Linked DNA regions of Homo sapiens: region 1 is linked to region 2. The links are contacts of gene promoters, found by promoter capture Hi-C in human tissues and cell types (Jung and others, 2019). All regions are on one chromosome and are shown on one strand. The core of a region is centred on a gene start or on the middle of the fragment in contact, and the rest is flanking DNA. Distances in the headings are between cores, read along the strand shown. Region 1 holds the start of KLHL35 (kelch like family member 35). Region 2 holds the start of OR2AT4 (olfactory receptor family 2 subfamily AT member 4).

Region 1 (4,250 bases), core at 868-3,367, 340 kb before region 2:
AGGACTCCATCCTTTCAGATGCCCCTGCAGGCCTGGGGCTCCTTCTGGGAAGTATGGGGCCTAGGGCTTGGTCCCCCTCTTCTGAGGCCCTCTCCTGTATCCCGACCTGGAAGCTTTGATGGGTCATGGGCCATGCCATACCCCCTGTGGCAATGGAGTGTGTGGATGCTCACCTGTGCCATCTGTCCTCCTGTCTGTGCCAGGAGGCACCTGAGTTCTCTGCTGTTATCCTGCCCCAAGGGCCTGGGCCGAGCCTCTACCTGAAGCAACTCTGCTCTTCCTGTCAGTCTCAAAGCACAAGGAGGTTCAGCCCAGGAGGAAGCCAGCTGCAATGTGGAGACACGTCCTCCTCCCCAACCCACCTCATGCCACCGCCAACCCCCTGCCCCAGGAGCGGGCCTGAGCCACGTCCTCTAGGAGCAGCTGGAGATGGCCAAAAGAGTGAGCTCAGGACTACTGGATCCCATGCCCAGGTGTCCAGCAGACCTCAAGGCAGAAGGGTCACCTAACCCAGGAGTCCACAGACTGATGTGACCTCAGGTTCCCACATCAGTGGCCACAGGGCAGGGCCCACCTGGTAGAAGTGTTCTGGATATGGCCAGGGTGGGTGTGTGGCTAAGTGGGCCTGAACAGAGGGAACCTAGGGCCCTTGGCCAATGTGATTAAAGCTGCCATCTTGATGTGTGTTGTCTCTGAATTGCCAGCAGGAGGGTGGGGACAAGTGCGCTGGGTCTAGGTTTCAGTTCTGACCCTATAATCTGAGGAGGAACCATTCTCAGGAATGAATGGGAAAGTGGCAGAATGGTGCCTCCCCTTCCCTGGGTCCGCCATGGTGCCAGTGGCTGGGAGCCGGTATCCTCATATGGTGGATGGGGAGACAGTCTTGGAGAGGTAAAGTGACCTCCAAAAGCCACACAGCTTAGAACAGGCCAAGCCAGAATCCCATCCAGACTCTGGCCCCAGCGCATATGTGTGCCTCCCATAAGCTAGGAATGACACGCAGAGGGGGAGGGCTCCTGGGTCCAATGTAGGGCTGGGAGTGGGACTGGCAGGTGCCCTCACAGCCACATGAAGGCATTCTGAACCTCCCGGCTATGTTGGGACAAGCCCTCAGCACAGGGAGGCCTCTTCCCCATGCCAGGAGTTTGGCTTTGACTTCTCCGAGCTTTGGACCTGCCTGAGGAGGGCCCATGCCCATGCCCAGGACTGGGGGCACCTGAGCTGAAAGCCAAAGTACAGCCCTGGGACCACAGGTGTCCTTTCCTTCCAGTCCTTGGGACCTCTGCTGTCTGTGGGCAGGAGTCAGTGGTGGTGTCAGAGCAGGCCTGTAACTCCCCTCTTTGTCCTGAGAGTCTGCCTGGTCATGGGTGTGACCTGAGGGAAAAGGGGGAAGCTGAGCCCCAGCTCCAGCCTGCATCAAATTAACTCCATGCTTCCTGGGAGCCAAGGGACGTGTCTCTTCCAAACAGGGATCTTCTGGATAGAATTCTTGGGGTCTAGGAGATTCTGGCACCTTATAGGTAAAAAAGAAAAGAGCCCTCTGCAAATGTTGGAAGCTCCACTGGGCCCCCACAGTAACCTCGAGGACCGGCCCTCCTGCCCCTGCTACTGAATGTCTGGCAAGTGCTCTGCTTCCTGGGGCAGAGGTCAGCTCCCGCCTCTCCCTGAGCTCAAGGGAATGAGACTCAGAGCCACTGTGCCCCCCGCCCCACATGCTTAGTCACATTGGCATCTACATGGTCACACAGCCACATGTCCACACGCAGCCCAATGCTACACAGTCACTTCATTCCATGTACTTCCACAATCACGCATAGTCACCCTGAAACCTACATGCCTACAACTGCATGATGACACCCCTCCCACACCCCAACTCCAGCACCACACACCTTCGAACCCATCGTCATTCCGGGACAAGGCCAGCACCAGGTCACCCCCAAACCCAGGCATACCAAATCCTGGAGTTCCACACACAGTCAATCCCACTCTTATGCCCCCCCTTTCTTTCCCTCCCTCCCAGGGCTAGTCCAAGAGTGGAACAAAAGCCCAGCATCCCCCTCCCTGCTCGCTTCTCCCTTCCCCTCCCTTCCCCTCCCTCCTGGCGTCCAGCCCCTTTGTCCTCCCGCAGCTGAGCCCGAGCGAACAGCAAACGGGAGTCTGGGCAGAGCAGCATGAACACTGGAGCTTGGGCTGCCAGGGGTGCGGGCGGCAGGCACAAACGGGAGTGATACCTGTGAGAGCAGCAGCTGCGGAGCACTTGGGAGAGGGTATGGCCAGGTAAGTGCCAGGTGCATGGGGCAAGGCTTAGGCTGCAGGGCTGACCCGGCTGCGTGGTGTCCGCAAGTCTGAGATGGGGAGGATGCGGAGGAGGTGCTTGGGTAATGGCTTCAAGTGGATGTGGGTGTGTAAAAGAGTGATGGTGGCATGTTCGAGTCAGCTTCTATAGGCTGGGCCCTTCAATCTGCATCATGACCCCTGGCTTGAAGTGCCTAGACTCAGCCGAGAAGGGAGGATACCCATTGAGCCCTACCTGGGAATTTTTACCTTCTGTGTTCCAACTGGGTGTCGTTTGACCCCCAGACTGGGGATCCCCAGAGTGAATGCTGGATCTGATGTCACTGTGTGTCCAGAGTGCCCAGCGCAGTAGACAGTAAAATGAAAAAGTACTGACACACTTCCTAGGAGGGGACTCTTTCTCCCCCAGGGAGCTGCTTGTGCTGTGGGGCACCTTTGCAAGAAGTCCATCCTTATGCTGATGAGACCTGCCCTCTTGAGTCTCAACTCAGAGCATGGTTGTGCTTTCTGAGCCAGTGGAGGACAGACTGGTTGCAGCGTGCTGTGATGACCGGTCTCACTTCCTTCCACCGGTCCTGGCTGCTCCTTGGGACACACCCCCACCCTGGCAAGTGTGGCATGCAAACCCTGGAGCCAGGTGGATTCAGGATCCAGTCGCTCTACTTGGGCAAAAGTAGTTAACTTTCTTGCCCACCAGGGAGCTCATCTCTCATGATGCTGACCAGGGGATCCGCTGCCCTGGATGACCAGGGCATGAAAGCCAGGCTGACACTAGGCGGGATCTGACCTCCAGAGGCAGCAGAGCAGCTGGGAGCAGGAGGATGGAAGGAGAGGCAGGGCGCAGAGGGTGGACCTGAGCCCCCTAGAGTAAGCTGATGGAAAGGAGGGAGCTCCCTGTCCCTGGAGGTGTGCAAGCAGAGGTTTTGTGTTCATAATGGCCAAATCATAACCAGCATGGCCCAGCCCCTCAGTCTGCAGAGCGCCTTCACAAACACCCCTCTGCTGAGCCTCGCCGCAAACTTCTGAAGGGCGGGTGTCCTGTGTGTGCTTGTTTCCCTTATGACAAACTAAAGGGGCAGGTGTGGGCTAAAGAAACTTCTCAGCTTGTGAGGATGAAATTAAATTATGTCTATAAAAGCAACTGGCACACACAGTGTCCTCCCTTCCTCTTGAGTAAAAGCAATATAGGGAAACACCCATGTAGCTCGTACTGTGTACTAGCACTTTTCATACAGCCCATGTAATAGTCATGAAGCCACAGCCCTGTGAGGTAGGGATGATGATCCCATTTCAGATGAGATAACTGAGGCCAGGGCGGGCAGGTGAGAGGAGTGACTTGCCCCGGCCACACCGTAAGCCTGTGGCAGGCACTGGGTTAGAATCCCCATTTGTCCCTAGAGTTCTTTCCACTTTCTGACGGTGCTACCTGGAGAACACCAAGAGAACTCACTAGAGAGAGGGCCAGCTTCCCTCAGCCTGGGCTCTAACCTTTCAGAATTCGCCCATCCTTCTCAGCTGGAAGGTTCCCCTCAGGGACGCCCTCCCTGACTCCCCTCCACCTGGGTCCAGCGGCCCTTCTATGAACTCCCCTAACACCCGGTGCCTCCCCATGGCACCCCCGCCAGGCTGGGAGCTCCGGGCACACCGTAACTATGGTTGTCTTGCTCACTGCCTGGCACAGAAAGGGCTCCCAATAAATACTTGTCGAATTCGTTTGCGCGAAAGCTGTGTGTATGATGCTGTCTGTCAGGGGAGTGCTCAGGGTGTGGTCAGTGTCCAGCACCTACCGGAGATCGGCAGGAGACAGGCTGGATTGAGCAGAGGGCGGTGGAGTTATTGTACCCTCTCTCCCCTGCACATGCACACACTGGGTCTCTGTGGGGCAGCCTGAGTCCCTTGACCCAGGGCTTCAGCTCCTGTCACGGGACCCTCCTTACACAGATATATTTCCAGGT
Region 2 (4,091 bases), core at 963-3,462:
AAGCAGTGTGGACCCAAAGAGTGAGCAGTAGCAAGGTTTATTGCAAAGAGCGAAAGATCAAAGCTTCCATAGTGTGGAAGGGGACCTGAGCGGGTTGCCACTGCTGGCTCGCGCAGCCTGCTTTTATTCTCTTACCTGGCTCCACCCACATCCTGCTGATTGGTAGAGCCCAGTGGTCTGTTTTGACAGGGCGCTGATTGGTGCGTTTACAATCCCTGAGCTAGACACAAAGATTCTCCAAGGCCCCACCAGAGCAGCTAGATACAGAGTGTCCATTGGTGCATTCGCAAACCCTGAGCTAGACACAGGGTGCTGATTGGTGTGTTTACAAACCTTGAGTTAGATACAGAGTGCCGATTGGTGTATTTACAATCCCTGAGCTAGACATAAAGGTTCTCCACGTCCCCACCAGACTCAGGAGCCCAGCTGGCTTCACCCAGTGGGTCCCGCACCGGGGCTGCAGGTGGAGCTGCCTGCCAGTCCCGGAGCCATGCGCCCACACTCCTCGGCCCTTGGGTGGTCGATGGGACTGGGTGCTGTGGAGCACGGGGCAGCACTCATCGGGGAGGCGGGGGCCGCACAGGAGCCCAGGGAGGGGGTGGGAGACTCAGGCATGGCGGGCTGCAGGTCCCGAGCCCTGCCCCGCGGGAAGGCAGCTAAGGCCCAGAGAGAAATCGAGCACAGCGCCAGTGGGCTGGCACTGCTGGGGGACCCAGTACACCCTCCACAGCCGCTGGCCCGGGTGCTAAGCCTCTTATTGCCTGGGGACAGCAGGGCCGGCCGGCTGCTCTGAGTGTGGGGTCCGCCAAGCCCACGCCCACCCAGAACTCCAGCTGGCCTGCAAGCGCAGGCGCAGCCCTGGTTCCCACTCGCGCCTCTCTCTCCACACCTCCCTGCAAGCTGAGGGAGCCGGCTCCGGCCTTGGCCAGCCCAGAAAGGGGCTCCCACAGTGCAGCGGTGGGCTGAAGGGCTCCTCAAGTGCCGCCAAAGTGGGAGCCCAGGCAGAGGAGGCACCGAGAGCGAGCGAGGGCTGTGAGGACTGCCAGCACGCTGTCACCTCTCACTGAGACTACAGGTGCATGCCACCATGCCCAGCTAATTTTTTTGTATTTTTCAGTAGAGATAGAGTTTTGCCAGTTGTCCAAGCTGCTCTCTTACTCCTGGACTCAAGAGATCCTCCCCCTTCGGCCCGGCAAAGTGCTGGGATTACAGGCGTGAGCCACCACACCCGGCCTAGAACTTTCACTTTTGACTCAGTAAAGCTCTGTATTGATTAAAATGTTCTACAATGAGGTTCTGTTTATTACTTGTGAAATTAAAAAAAAATTAAAATTTTATGAGTATTAGTAGGAGTGACCAAGTCAGTCAAGTCAGAAACAGAACACTGGAGCCAAAGGAGAGAATCAGAAAGATTGAGGCAGGAAGAGTCTGTGACTCTTGACTTTGTCCTGTATGGGGTTGGGGCAGAGACTTCCACCCTCACATTCTTTCCACAAAACCTTTGCAAGTTCTCATTGCACAGCAGCGGAAGTATCACATACTCATTGAACAAGGCTTTACTGCTTTGGTCCATTAAAATAATAGCTCCCACTTATTGAATGCCTAATAAGTGGCAGGAACTGGGTGAAGCACCTCAACCTGCCCAGTTATCCTGTGAGAGAGTTAGTGTCGTTATACCCATTCCACAGATGACAAAATGAAGACCCAGTGAGGTTAAGGGATTTGTTCAAAGTCATATTACTGGGAATAACTCGGGTCTTAGTCATTAGATAACATGTTGCTGAACCACTGAACCAGAATTGGAGCCTTGGGTACAAATCCCAGCTCTGCCACCAGCCACTCATATGACCTTGGGCAAGTCACCTCACTTCTCTAGATCTCAGTTTCCTCAAATGTAAAATAGTGGAAATAATCCTGACTCTGCCTGTCTTCCCTGGCTATTGTGAGGACCAGATGGGAAAACAGGAATAATACTGGTGATAAAGTTCTGGGACCCATGAGGGTTGTTAATGATGTTGTTTTCATTATCAGCAAAGCCCAGAACAAAGTCCCCCACTCCACCCTCGGAAGTTGTTCTCAGCTGACTGGCAGTTATCTGGTCCCACGGGTGAGCCTTCTTGTGGGGAGAGAGCCCCAGCAGGCCTGGTTGCAGAGAGGGGCCCGAGGGTTTAAAGGGCCATGGTTGAGTTTCTACCTGGCTCTTCCCAACCAAGGCCAACTGTGACGACTCTACACAAGACATCAAGGCGGACCAGGATTGGTAGGTGAGCTGGGCTGGGGATGGAGTGCGCAGAGCAGGCAGAGACTGGGATGGGGAGATAGGCTCAGGGAGGTTGGGGGCATGTACAACCACAGTAAAGATCCTGGGAATGTCAGGGTCCCAGGATCCAAGTCAACCACGCAGTCAGCCTGGGTGAGTGTAGACCAGACACCCTCGCAGGCAGGGGCAGGGCTGTGCAGTCACAAGCAAGAGGCTAATGATCTTGGAAGAGAATTCCTCACAAGGAGGCAAAGCTGATGACGATAAGAGAAATGGGAATAATTTGTGAGGGAATTGCAGTCCATTGGAGGAAAGCACAAAGTGGTGGAGCCAGGAAGGAAACTCAGGCCTTTCTAACTGCAAAGTTAATAGACCTAGATTCTGTGCTTCACGTATATCCTGCTCCTTTTCTATGGAAACAGTGCAGGATGGTGAGAATATCATGAGAGAACTGCATGAGTTTGGGCGTCGTAATGATGTGTAATGACTGTAAAGAATCAAGCAGGCAACAGAAGCTTAACAAATGAGAGCGCCCTTGCTCTCCTTCCTAAGAGGCTGAGGCCATGACACATCTGTCTTCGAATCTCTCATTTATCTAAACACAGAGTAGATACTCAAAATATTTATCAAGCTGGAGATCATTGCTTCCAAAGTCCTCATTTTATAGATGGGAAAACTGAGGCTCAGAGACCCAGCATCACAGCAAGAGAGTGGCAGAGCTGGTCCAGGAGAGCTCAAGGTGAGTTGATAATCTAGCTCTGTTGACAGTCTAGTTCTAGTTCTATCACCCACTTACTGTGTGACCTTGGGAAAGTCACAGCCCATTTCTGGGACTCCCTTTTCTGTCCCCATCTATATAATAAAGAGGTTAGGTGAAATGCCAGCACTTTGGGAGGCCGAGGCGGGCAGATCACTTGAGATCAGGACTTCAAGACCAGCCTGGCCAACATGGTGAAACACCATCTCTACTAAAAATACAAAAATTAGCCGGACATGGTGGCAAGCGCCTGTAATCCCAGCTACTCGGGAGGTTGAGGCATGAGAATCGCTTGAACCCGGGAGGCAGAGGTTGCAGTGAGCCGAGATCGTGCCACTGCACTCCAGCCTGGGTGATAGAGCAAGACTCAATCTCAAAAAAAAAAAAAAAAAAGAGGTTAGGTGAAAACTATTTAATCACTAATGGCCCCTTCATTCCTATTTGATGATTTATCAGCAAAACAAGGCAAGTTGGAAAGCTGCATTCCAGAGCACTAAGCTCCTGGGAAGGATGGTGCAGTATCAAATAGAAACGATCAGACCCCATTACTGCTCTGAAAGTGCTCCTGGTGTGGTGGACACATAAATAGACAGAGACAACCTGGTGTAATCATAATAATGACAAACAGAAGCACAGGAACTTCAAGAGCCCAGGAAAGAGGCTCCTGAGCCAGCCAGGACCATAGAAGATCTCTTGGAGGAAGTAATATTTGAGCTGAATTTGGCAGAAGCACAAGGCAAGAGCAAGGAGTTGCCATTTGACTAGAATAAGGAGAAACAAGGCTGCAAGAAGACAGGCTTTGAATAGCAGGCTAAGGAATCATCCTCTCTCATGAAACATCCTACAAAGACTGGGTGGGAGCCAGGACACCGGCTTTAAAACCTACTTCTGCTATGAATTTGTTGGTTGACCTTGAAAAGACACTATTTCTGGACTTCAGACTCAGCATCTGTCTCCCTGCTGTTTAATAGAAGTGAGGGAGGAGGTGGGAAGAGAGGCTCAGTCAGGCTTGACGGCTCTGAATTTCTCCCCTCAAACCCCAATTCAGCCTAACTCGGTGGCATTCAATCCATA

What was found. The method cuts DNA at HindIII sites, captures the fragments that hold promoters and counts their contacts. A contact is called where the count stands out against the background at its distance.
Region 1: a contact is called between the fragment with the promoter of KLHL35 here and the fragment with the promoter of OR2AT4 in region 2, in 1 of the 25 tissues and cell types used here (H1 embryonic stem cells).

The regions. Positions count from the first base shown.
Region 1 is chr11:75,431,070-75,435,319 of GRCh38, reverse strand. KLHL35 (kelch like family member 35) reads left to right here and starts at 2,117. Exons shown (of 7, transcript NM_001039548.3): 1 at 2,117-2,277. GDPD5 (glycerophosphodiester phosphodiesterase domain containing 5) reads left to right here. Exons shown (of 17, transcript NM_030792.8): 17 at 1-680. RefSeq lists an enhancer at 2,593-3,479. The HindIII fragment of the contact is 12,939 bases long and covers 1-4,250 here.
Region 2 is chr11:75,094,997-75,099,087 of GRCh38, reverse strand. It overlaps OR2AT4 (olfactory receptor family 2 subfamily AT member 4), which reads left to right and starts at 2,212. Exons shown (of 2, transcript NM_001405852.1): 1 at 2,212-2,260. RefSeq lists a cis regulatory region at 1,838-2,353. The HindIII fragment of the contact is 12,596 bases long and covers 1,420-4,091 here.